2 separate regions of the Homo sapiens genome follow, and region 1 is linked to region 2. Evidence: promoter capture Hi-C in 16 types of primary human blood cells and fetal thymus (Javierre and others, 2016). All regions are on one chromosome and are shown on one strand. The core of a region is centred on a gene start or on the middle of the fragment in contact, and the rest is flanking DNA. Distances in the headings are between cores, read along the strand shown. Region 1 overlaps GLB1L3 (galactosidase beta 1 like 3). Region 2 holds the start of IGSF9B (immunoglobulin superfamily member 9B).

Region 1 (5,432 bases), core at 1,882-4,381, 360 kb before region 2:
TAGATCCCCAGAGAATAAAGTTTTATGTAGAATTGTGGAGGTATCTCACAGAAGTTTCCTCCATTGAAATAGTCATTCAGACTAGTGGGAGAGAAGATAATCTGACATCTTTATCTTCATTCCAATCCAAACAGAGGGTTCTCTTCCCTCTGGACACAAGATTACTTACTAAATTACTTGAAAGCCCTAGGCACTATATTTAACAGGGTGATAAGATTTGCTTATAGTGCATTGGTTTGAATTTAGGCCAAGTGCTGTGTTTTGTATATAAGAAAGTGCTTGGTTCCCAATGGTGCCATTTTTTTCAAATGGCTCCACTGGCTTTTCATAGTGGTTGGAATATTCATGTGTGTGTGGCTAATCTCACTAATGCCTACCCACTATCAGTAGTAGCCTTGACTATAGCCAGATAGACAGGGAGTAAGAAGACACAGAGAACCCTGCGCTAGCTTTGTTGTCACACGTGTCTGAAGCAAATGACCAAATTTCTGTTCCTTCTCTGATTAGATGTGACATGCAGGGTCACCTTGTAGACACATAGTTGAAGGGAAATGAAAGACATTGTTCATTGCCCTCTCCTTTCCCCTACTCCTACATACACACACACACATGCACGCGCGCGCGCACACACACACACACACACACACATACACAGAGAGAGAGAGAGAGAGAGAGAGAGAGGAGGGAGACCGTGAGTTTGCCCATTAGTACATGCAATACTCTCTCTGGCATGAGGAAATCAGTATCCTTACTCTTCCCCAGGCTTCAGACCTTTCCCTTCCCTTCAATTGAGTATGGGAGGCAGAAATGAAACTTGTTTTTATTTTATTCACATCTACTCAAAGGCACGTTTAATTAAAGAATAAGAGCCTGCTAAGGATTAAGCATTTAACTAGATAAATCAGTCATTAAAGATTTTGAAGACTTTTTAAAGCCTAAAAATAGGCATCATATAGATAGACTACAAAATACATAACAATTCCTCTGCTGTTTTGTTGTTGTTGTTATTTTCACATTTTTGCTATTGTAGGCAACACTGTGTTTGATAGTCTTAACATAAATCTTATTCCTCAAAAATGACTTATAGATGAACTCCAGCAACCCAAAAAATATGTTCACGGCCGGGAGTGGTGGCTCACGCCTGTAATCCCAGTACTTTGGGAGGCTGAGGAGAGCAGATCACAAGGTCAGGAGATTGGGACCATCCTGGCTAACTTGGTGAAACCCCATCTCTACTAAAAATACAAAAAATTAGCCAGGCGTGGTGGCGTGCACCTGTAGTCCCAGCTGCTGGGGAGGCTGAGGCAGGAGAATGGCGTGAACCCGAGAGGCTGAGCTTGCAGTGAGCAGAGATTGTGCCACTGCACTCCAGCCTGGGCGACAAAGTGAGACTCCATCTCAAAAAAAAAAAAAAATGTTCAGACACAGTTTTACAGCGTGGGCTTGTCTGTAGATTTGATATCTGAGCCACTCATCATCTTCTCAAACAAGATGACCTGAGAAGAAAAGAAAGGTTGACAGTGGGAAAGGTGAAGCCTATTTAGTACAGGTTGAAAAAGACACTGCAACTCACATTTTGATCTGAAAGTTTATGAGATCTCAAGGCAGAGACTGGAGTGACATACCTCATTGTCTTCTGGATGAAGCCAAACTCCAGGAAGGTACAGTGTTTTCTGAGGCCCAATATTCCAATATCGCCCAAGGTTACGTCCATTGATGAACACAAATCCATAATTCCAGTTCTGAAAGGAATGGTGGCTTGAGATTTGGAAATTGGTTCACATTAGCAAGGTAAAACCTAAGGCACTTGGAGAGTGAGAGCAAGATTGAGATACTTTATGGCACTCAAATGAAGGTGAGTTTAGAGTGGGATATGTTATAGAACTTCTACCTTGCTGTCTAGGAATGAAAGAGAAAAGCATAAATAGAACCAACCCTTTAATGGTAAGGCTGCTATTGTTCCTGTTATGTGATATATAATGTTATATATTTTAAAAAGCAGATCTTCTACTTCCAGAAATAAATATCAGGTAATAGTGATGAACACCACTGCTGACAGTGGCTATTAATATAAAAGCTGCACATTTTTAAAAATCTGCTTGCAATATAATGAAGAATTACAGGATCAAGATCTAGAAGAAGAAAATGGAGAGACAAGGAGACATCTAGGCAGTTTTTCCACTAGAGGCACCTGCTTATTCTGGGATATAACAAAACAGTCTAGCACATAAAATTGGAGTCTCTGAAATGCTTCAAATTAAAGGGCAAAGGTTGCTGGTCTTGATTTCAAATAAAGTAGTTATATGCTACATATAAGAGAAGCATCAAAAACATAAGGCATTGGAAAAATAAAAGAAAAACAATGGATAATGATATGTAAACCCTAACCAAAAGGAAGTTGCTATAGCTCTGTTAATATTCAGAAAAATAATACTTTAAGGCAAGAAGCATTATTAGAGATAAAGAGGGACATTTCATGATGGTAAAATTCTTAATTTACCAAAAATGTATATACAACATACATAAGAAAGATAAAAGCAGAGATTCAAAACATATCAGCGAAATTGACAGAAGAGAAATAAATAAATTTACAACCATAGCGGGAAATTTTTATACAACCTTTCAATAGTCAATAGGCAAAGCAAATAACAATCAATAAAGACATAAAACATTTAAAAGAAGATGATTAACAAAATTGAACTAATTGACATAATAGAACATTGATCTAACATCTACAGTATACACATATTCTTTCAAGTATACCTCAGAATATTTACAAGCTTGATCCTGTATTAAACTAGTCTTCACATAAACTTCTCAGACTATAATGCATTTAAGAAAGAAACTGATAAAAAAGATAACCCTAAAATATCCAAATTCTTGGAAATTAAGAAAAGCACTTCTAAATAAACCATAAATCTAACAAGTAATGACAAAGGAAGTTGGAAAATATTTGAATTCTTTGATGATGATGATAAAATTGATAGAAACTTGTAGGGTATAAGACTATCAGCAGATTTTTCAGCAGAAACCTTGCAGGCTAGCGTGGAATGGACCGATATATTTAAAATGCTAAAAGAAAAATCAACTGGCAACCAAGAATACTACATCCAGCAAAACTGTCTTTCAAAAATGAATAAGAGATAAAGACTTCCAGACAAAAACTGAGGGAGTTCATCGCCACTAGACCTGCTTTACAAGAAGTGCTAAAGGAAGTCCTTCAACTTGAAAAGAAAGGAACTTAAACAGTACCAAGAATCCACAAAAAGTATAAACTGATTGGTAAAGATCATCAAGTTTCCCCCCGGCAACAACATGGCCCCCAGAGTGGCCTGCAGCTTTCTGGACACTGCCTCCAGGACATCCAGTGCCTCAGGTTGAATACTACCTGCCAAATGGCGCCTTCGGTCTACACTATTTGCCTTAATATGAGAAGAAAGCACAGCCCTACTATAGCAAAGTTCTGGACCCAGGGAAGCTTCTCAATGTCCCCCAAAACATGGAAGTTGTCATTATGGGCAAGTGCTTGTGAAGCATGTGACCTTCAACAATCCACACAGCCGTATGAAGGAAAAGTAAAATTCCAACTTAAAACTTAGAGGTGAAAGAGCAAGAGTAGGTATTTTATAATTCCTAGCAGACTCAAGAAGATTGGCCCTAACCTGCAGGATAATTTGCAGACCTTCTCTTTTGTTGGGCTTAATTTGCCTGCCAGCTCCTTACAAAATCATCTTTAAGACATTCTAAAATGCACATACCGAAGTCTACTTGACACCTTCAGAGAAGCACCTACAGGTGAAGTGCTCACCTTTAGTATCAGCTGTTTGTTATGAAACCTTTATTATTTTTTAGATAGAATTTATAGTTATGATTAAACTGTTAGGCTAACATGGCAACCTTAAAGCAGCAATTATCCAACTAATAAGACACTAAAATGATTCATCTCTTCCTATATAGACATCGCTTGTCTTACAACTTATTTTTTCTGTATTTCAATATGAACCATTACCCATATAATAGAAAGTATAATATAAAAATAATGCACTGATATGAAATATGGCTTATAATTATGTACATTCTGAATTCTTGCTTTGAAGAATGTAATTCTTCAGTCATGAAAATAAATACAATAAATTTATTCTTATTCTACGTGTAAAAAAAAAAAAGGTATGGGAGTCATTTCCAATATAGGCAAATCCATAAAGATAATAAAAAGATTGCTGTTGCCAGGCGGTGGGAGAAGGGGAAAATGGAGAAGTAATTGCCCAATGTTTATAGGATAATGAAAATGTGCTGGAACTGGAGATAGAGGCTGCATAGCATTGTGAAGGCATGAAAGACTACTTAATCGTTCACTTTAACAGAACTAATTTTATGTTATGTAATTTTACCTCAAAAAATCTTTTTAAAACTTAGAGGATGCAACCAAATCCACGCGTAAATGATGATTAATAACCTAAATTCATATAATTAAAAAGAACAAAGACTGAAAGTCCATTATCTAAGTATCTATGTCAAGACATTATAAAAATAAAGCAAATTAATCCTAAACTAAGAAATTGAATAAACAAAATAATAAAGATAATGACAGAATCAGAAAATAAATACTTAACACAGTAAGAGTCATAGCCAAACACTGTACTTTGAACAATTAATAAAATTGATAGTGTTCTGGTGAGAATTATCAAGAAAAAAGAGTGCATCGATATCCTGTAACAAATGACAAGGGGAACGTTACTACCAATGATCTAGACATCAAAAACGAATATTTTAAAGGCAATATATTTGAAAATTTAGATGAAATGGGAAAATTTCCAGAAAAATATATTTTCTCAAAGCTAACTTTAAAAGAAACAAAATCTGAATAGTACTTTAATCTTTCAATAATTGAATCCACACTCACACACTTTTTCAAAAAGAAAATGCCAGCTCTAGAAGGCTTCACTAATGAACTCCATTAAATGTTTAAGAAGTGATACTTGTCTTACACAAATTCGCCTTCCTAAATCCTTTATGAGATCCCTAAACATTGGCACCAAAACCTGACAAAGAGATCTCAGTTATGAACATAAACACAAACGAAGTCTTAATTATTTACCATAGACAAGCCCTAGATATAATCCAAATGTTCAGAAAAAGTAAAATGGTTAAATAAATTATTATAATGTATTTACTAAATGAACCCAATACAACAGTGAAAATGAACAAATCACTGCAACATCGATAAATGGCTGAACCTCACAATGTTGAACAAAAGAAAACATATTTAAAAAAGATGCCCTGTATGATTCCATTTACATAAAGTCAAAATAGGAGACACTGGCCTAGGGTGTTAGAAGTCAAGGCAGCAGTTGGGAGGGGTGCCAACAATATTTTTAACTTTCAGTGATAATTATATGGTGTTCACTTTGTGATCATTTGTTGATCTGTAC
Region 2 (5,170 bases), core at 1,432-3,931:
CTTTTGGACATCTGGGGTCCATGCTCCCCTTGAACACTCAACTGGATGTGTCTATTCTAGGAAGGGGCAACCATCCTTTCTGGGTCCAAAGCTCAGCCATACGCCAAGAGGAAAAGATTTGATCAGACTCACTCCTCACTGTAAGCTGATACAGTATATCTCTCTTTAGCTGATCTGAAACCCAGTTGAGACATGTCTAATGATGATGATGATGACGAACTTTTCCCTTTGTATCTTAATTTTCTTCCCCTTCCTCTCTGCCTTCATCCCTTGTTCCACTCTGTTTCCAGTAGAATTATCCAGAAGAAATTTGTTCTCCTCTTTAGATAGATCCTTCGAACCCCTTCCCAACCCAACTCATGTTCTAAAGCTTGTTACGTGTTTTTTTCTTTCCAATTTGACAGACACTTTTGTTGTTGTTTTTGTTTGTTTTTTAACAGGGTCTCATTCTGTCACCCAGGCTGGAGTGCAGTGGCATGATCACTGAGCCTAGAACTCCTGTGCTCAGGCAATACTCCTGCTTCAGCCTCCTGAGGAGCTGAGACTACTGGCATGAGCCTCCATGCCCGCCATCCATTCTGACAGACAGTTCTACTTTCCTAGCAGGAGGCAGAACCCTGAGTAGGACAAATGGATGGCCAGACAAAGCAATCAAGATGGGTGGTGAGAGTGGCTCCATCTTTTTCCTTGCCCTGCAGGCCCCTAGGAGAGGGTTTCTCTGAGACCTGATGTTTCCCACTCCATACCTAACAATGGTGAGGAACTAGGGCCAGGCTTTGTGGATCCGGCACTTTTCTCTAGGCCACAGTTAGCTGCTTAGAGGTTGTGGGAGGAGAAGGATCCTGTTATGACCAATTCTGCAAATGGATTCCAATATGTCTTTACAGTCCCGGGGCCCTGGGAAAGTGTGTAAGTGTGTGTGTATGTATATGTGTGTGTGTGTGTTGGGGGTGGAGTTATTCTGGGTCATGCCACCTGGAAATCACTGCATCAATGAGACCTGGAGATCACTGCATCAATGAGACCTGGAGCAGCTCACTTCATTGTCCCCAGAAAGGCATCTTTGCCCAAGAAGAGAACCAAAATCATGGCTCAGGGAGAGATGGCCCCAAGTTATGCATCTTGAGTGTGTTTGCACAGGTGGAGGGGTGGGTAGGGTAGAAGGTTATTCAACAGTCCTGGTTCTCTGGATCTATCCAGGCCCTCGACCTTTATCCATGTGCTCACTGACTGCTCTGTTGGGGGCCTCTTTCTGCCTCCCAGCTGGCGGTGAGCTAAGAGGCTTCCGGTGTCAGGGAATGCTCCACCTCCGGTGTTCAAGGCCACTTTTTGTGCATGTGTGTGTACCTGTGTGCACGCTTTCCCAGAAGCAAGTCTCCTTCTTGTTGTTTTGGGAGCTTCATGTCCTGGAGCCAGGGCTTTGTGGCTAACGAGTGCTTTGAGAGGATGAAATTCCTGAGCTCTCGCTCGCTGACCCTCTGCCTTCCTTCCTTGGCCAACAGCCCATCCCAGGGAGCGGTGTGATTCTTACCACTGCCTTCACTCCTTGAAAGAACAAACATCTTCACTGCAGCCTCTGAGCGCTGGTGTGAGGTGATTGTTTGTAGTAGATGTTTCCATGACACTCATTTATTTCTTCTGCAAATACAACTGTATTGGGGGAGGGGAAGCAGACAGGCTAGGGTAGGGAGACTGGAACATACGAAGACCTTCCAGTTTCCTATTTACATTCCTCTGTAGGATGAGAAGCTCCTTCCCTTTCCCTGGGTCTCCTCCATCCCAGACTCCTAAAGCTTCCCCCAAACCCATCTTGGTTTCATGCGGCCGAGTCGGGGCTGGGCTCCGAGTAAGGTGGAGAGGGGAGGAACCATGTGCGTGAGGAAGCAGCCTTTATCAGGAGAAGTGGGAAAAAGACCCAACTTTGACTGCTTGGAGTCGGGATTCAGTAATGATGAGCAGCAGTGACCAGCACTGGGGGTGGAGTGTGTGTGCACGAGTGTTCCTGAGGGGTCTGTGGCACTTCGCAGCTGAGCCAATGACTCACTCTAAATCTTAGCGACTTTGAGAGGTCATTTTAGTCATCCCCCGGTCTGCATCACGTTTGGAGGGGGTGGTGCGCTGCTCTGGGGACGTGTCTGGGTGCGGAGGGAGACGGGGTGGGGAGGCGGCGCGTGACCTCTTTGAAAAGATCTCCGGCGAAGGACGTTCCCCGGCTCTCCCGGGCCGCCGGCTCCTGGGTTTCCCCATCATAGAATCAGCATGGTCCTCTCGGGAACTGCTTTTTGCCGGATGGAAACCGGATGTTGGGTTCCATGAGTGGGCGGGGGCTCCACTTCCCTCAGACCTGTCCGGGGTAATTGAGACCCGCCAGGGTCCCGTTAGAAGCTACCATTTCCCTCACCAGAAACTTGCCACGCAGTGTGAGCCGAGAGAGAAGCGGGCAGAGACGCTATACCACCTTCTCCCCGGCAATGCGCATGATTCTGCGGCTCTGTGCTCGCCACACTTCAACGCACCTTGAAATGGGCTCGCCTCCTTCGCGCCGCGACGGGCGGAAGGCTGAGCCAATCGGACCCCCGGCTTGCGGGCGGCGCCCAATAGGCGGGCGGCGGGGGCGGTTCCGGAGGCCCGGCCCGGCTAGGCTTCACCGTGGACCTGGCTGCGCTCCGCCCGGGCGAGTAGTGCAGGTGCCGCTGCGCCGGGGCCGGGGAGGCGCGCGCCGAGCCGAGCGGAGCCTAGGAGGGATGGAGAGCTGGCCACCCGGGCTGCAGGAGCACCGGCGCGGGGCGTAGGCGGCGCGAGGCGGGCGCGAGGCGGGCGCTCGGGCGCGAGGCGCGTGCGGGCGCGGGAGCACTTTGCGATAGGATGAGGCTCCGGGCTGGCGCGGTAGTACTATGATTTGGTATGTGGCCACTTTCATAGCAAGTGTGATCGGCACCCGAGGGCTTGCGGCTGAAGGTGAGTTGAAGTGCGGCGTCCCTCCCCTGCCCCTCCCGGCGCCCTCGGCCCCTCGCGCCCGGCCCCTCGGTTTCCCGGCTCCTTGGCCCCCCGGTTCCCCAGCTCCCCGGCGCGCCTTCCCGCGGGTGAGGCTTGGGCTCCGACGCGGGCCAGGCGGCCCGGGAGCATTGCCGGGGAGGGCCTGGGGGCCGTGGGCTGGAGGGGCGGGCGGGAAGGGGCCAGAGCCCACGGGCTGCCGGGCACTCGGGGAAAGGACGCAGTGGAACCTGGGTCGACTTCGCCCACCACGGGCCCCACGGTGCACACCGGCGCGCCTAGCCCGTCGCCTCCTGCCCGGCGGCCGCCTCCCAGAGCTGCGGGAAACTCTGGCTGCGGGAGTTTGCGGTCTCCGGGCAGGCTGCAGCACGCTAGAGCCCCGCGCCGCGAGGAGCGCCTGCAGGGAGGCGCGACCCGGAGGATCCCTGGGACTGGCGGCACCCGCGTCTAAGGCCCCGGGTTCGCGCGGCCCTGCGGGCGTCCATCGCTCCGCTCGCGCCCCTCCTGCCCACACATCTTGGCAGCTGGAGGTCGGATCCCCCTAGCAGGGGCGCCCGGTGAGAGGAGGATTGATGAGGCCAGCTTCGAGGTGTGTCCGCTTTTGGCTGGACCCCGCCGGCCCCCGCGCCTCTCAGCCGCACCTGGGCCCCGGCCAGGCAAAAGTTCCCCGGGAGCGCGCCGCAGCCGCGCGGGCCCCACGCCGCCCTCCCCAGGCTGCGAGGCAGAGCTGGCTGGGGGCGGCGGCGGGGGAGGGGAGGGGCGGGGAAGGGGGGGTCCCCACGCTGTGAATCCGAGCGGAGGGGGGATTTTCTCTTTCCGCTTTCCTGGGTCTGAGCTGGGGGAGACGCAAGGGGGGAGCCACCGAGTTGGGTGATGCGTGCGTGAGCGCGCGGGCTTTTGCTTTGGAGATGGGCAGAGCGACCTACAAGCCTCTGGGTGGCACCCCCGGCTCTCGGCCCTTGTATGGAAGTGGGAGCGGAGCCTGGAGGGTGCCAGGACTGTGAGCTCAGGGCTGTCAGCGCGCAGACACGACCCGGCTGCGGGCAAGTTCACCAAGCCGGAGGAGATGGCGGCGGGAGAGAACCCGCTGTGGGTGGGAGTCAGCAGGCAGGACTCGCCGACAGAGAACCCTCTCCCAGCGGCATGGGGCGCCGGGTGGGCTGGAGGCGCCTCTCACGGGGTCCCCTCGTCACTCGTCTGTGCAGGGGGGCGTGCTTCAGGAAACTTTCCGGAATGGAATGAATATGTCGCCTCTGCTTCTGAGGGGGGTGGTGGTGTCTGAAAACAGAACGAGCAGAGGGCGAAGCGAAGGGTGATTTTGTTAACTGACATGTTGGTCCGGACGGTTTTAAAACTCTTCATTTGTCAGGTGGGAACACTGAGGCAAGGGTGATGGCGGAAGCTTACGGAACGGGGGGTGGATGTGAGGTGCATCGGGCTGCGCTTGACAGTCTGCCTGTAGCCTCATCCTCTCCCCCATTTCCTTGCCGTCTTCCAATGCCCGCATCCTCCTCCCCTCCCGTTTTTGGTATGTTCCTGCTATGGGACTGTCCCTGAAAGCACAAAAGGATGAGCTGGGATCTTTGAATAGAAAAGAGACGCTGAAGGAAGGCTCTGAAATAGCCTCCGAACCTAAGTCAGGGTGGGCAATGGACTTCTTTGCAAGTTTCAGCCCAGAATAAAGGAATGTGAGTTTATACTGCAGCAACACGCAGAATCGCAAGATAGAAGGAAGGGCTTCCCAAAATTGAAGGCTGCCTGGCATGAAGGTTATGCCCTCTTTCAGGGTGCAGAGGGGTCCTTCTGTCTGGAATGGCTGGACATGTACCCCTGTCTGGAAGCAGAGGGTGACCTTGCTGGTCTTGGGGTCTTTCTTAGCCTCAATTGCTCTGTGTGTGGTAGTTAAGGACCTAGGTCTAGAGCCATATGACTGGGATTCAGATTCTGGCTGTGTCACCTGCCGACCCTGTGACCTTGGACAAATTCTCAACCTCTCTAAATGTCACTTGCTTCAATAGAAAATGTGCCAATAGCATGTACTTTTAGGGTTTTTAGGTGGACATGAGTGTTATAAGGAAACAAAACAACTACCTGTTATATAGTACGTGCTCAGTAAACATTAACATTATTTTCTCAGTGTCCCTGGGATTCCAAGATCCTCCTCAATTTCTTTCCC

The links. The method cuts DNA at HindIII sites, captures the fragments that hold promoters and counts their contacts. A CHiCAGO score of 5 or more calls a contact.
Region 1: a contact is called between a fragment that was not itself captured here and the fragment with the promoter of IGSF9B in region 2, in 4 of 17 cell types (activated CD4 T cells, total CD8 T cells, naive CD4 T cells and 1 more). The highest score is 9.9, in activated CD4 T cells.

Annotation. Positions count from the first base shown.
Region 1 is chr11:134,314,941-134,320,372 of GRCh38, reverse strand. GLB1L3 (galactosidase beta 1 like 3) reads right to left here. Exons shown (of 20, transcript NM_001080407.3): 19 at 1,626-1,742; 20 at 809-1,496. The coding sequence ends at 1,431. It also overlaps the pseudogene LOC100421417. Among named protein-coding and RNA genes, the nearest start is that of GLB1L2, 14 kb to the left of the region's middle. The HindIII fragment of the contact is 698 bases long and covers 2,783-3,480 here.
Region 2 is chr11:133,954,479-133,959,648 of GRCh38, reverse strand. IGSF9B (immunoglobulin superfamily member 9B) reads left to right here and starts at 2,681. Exons shown (of 20, transcript NM_001277285.4): 1 at 2,681-2,958. The coding sequence starts at 2,895. RefSeq lists a silencer at 2,503-2,852. The HindIII fragment of the contact is 2,603 bases long and covers 1,796-4,398 here.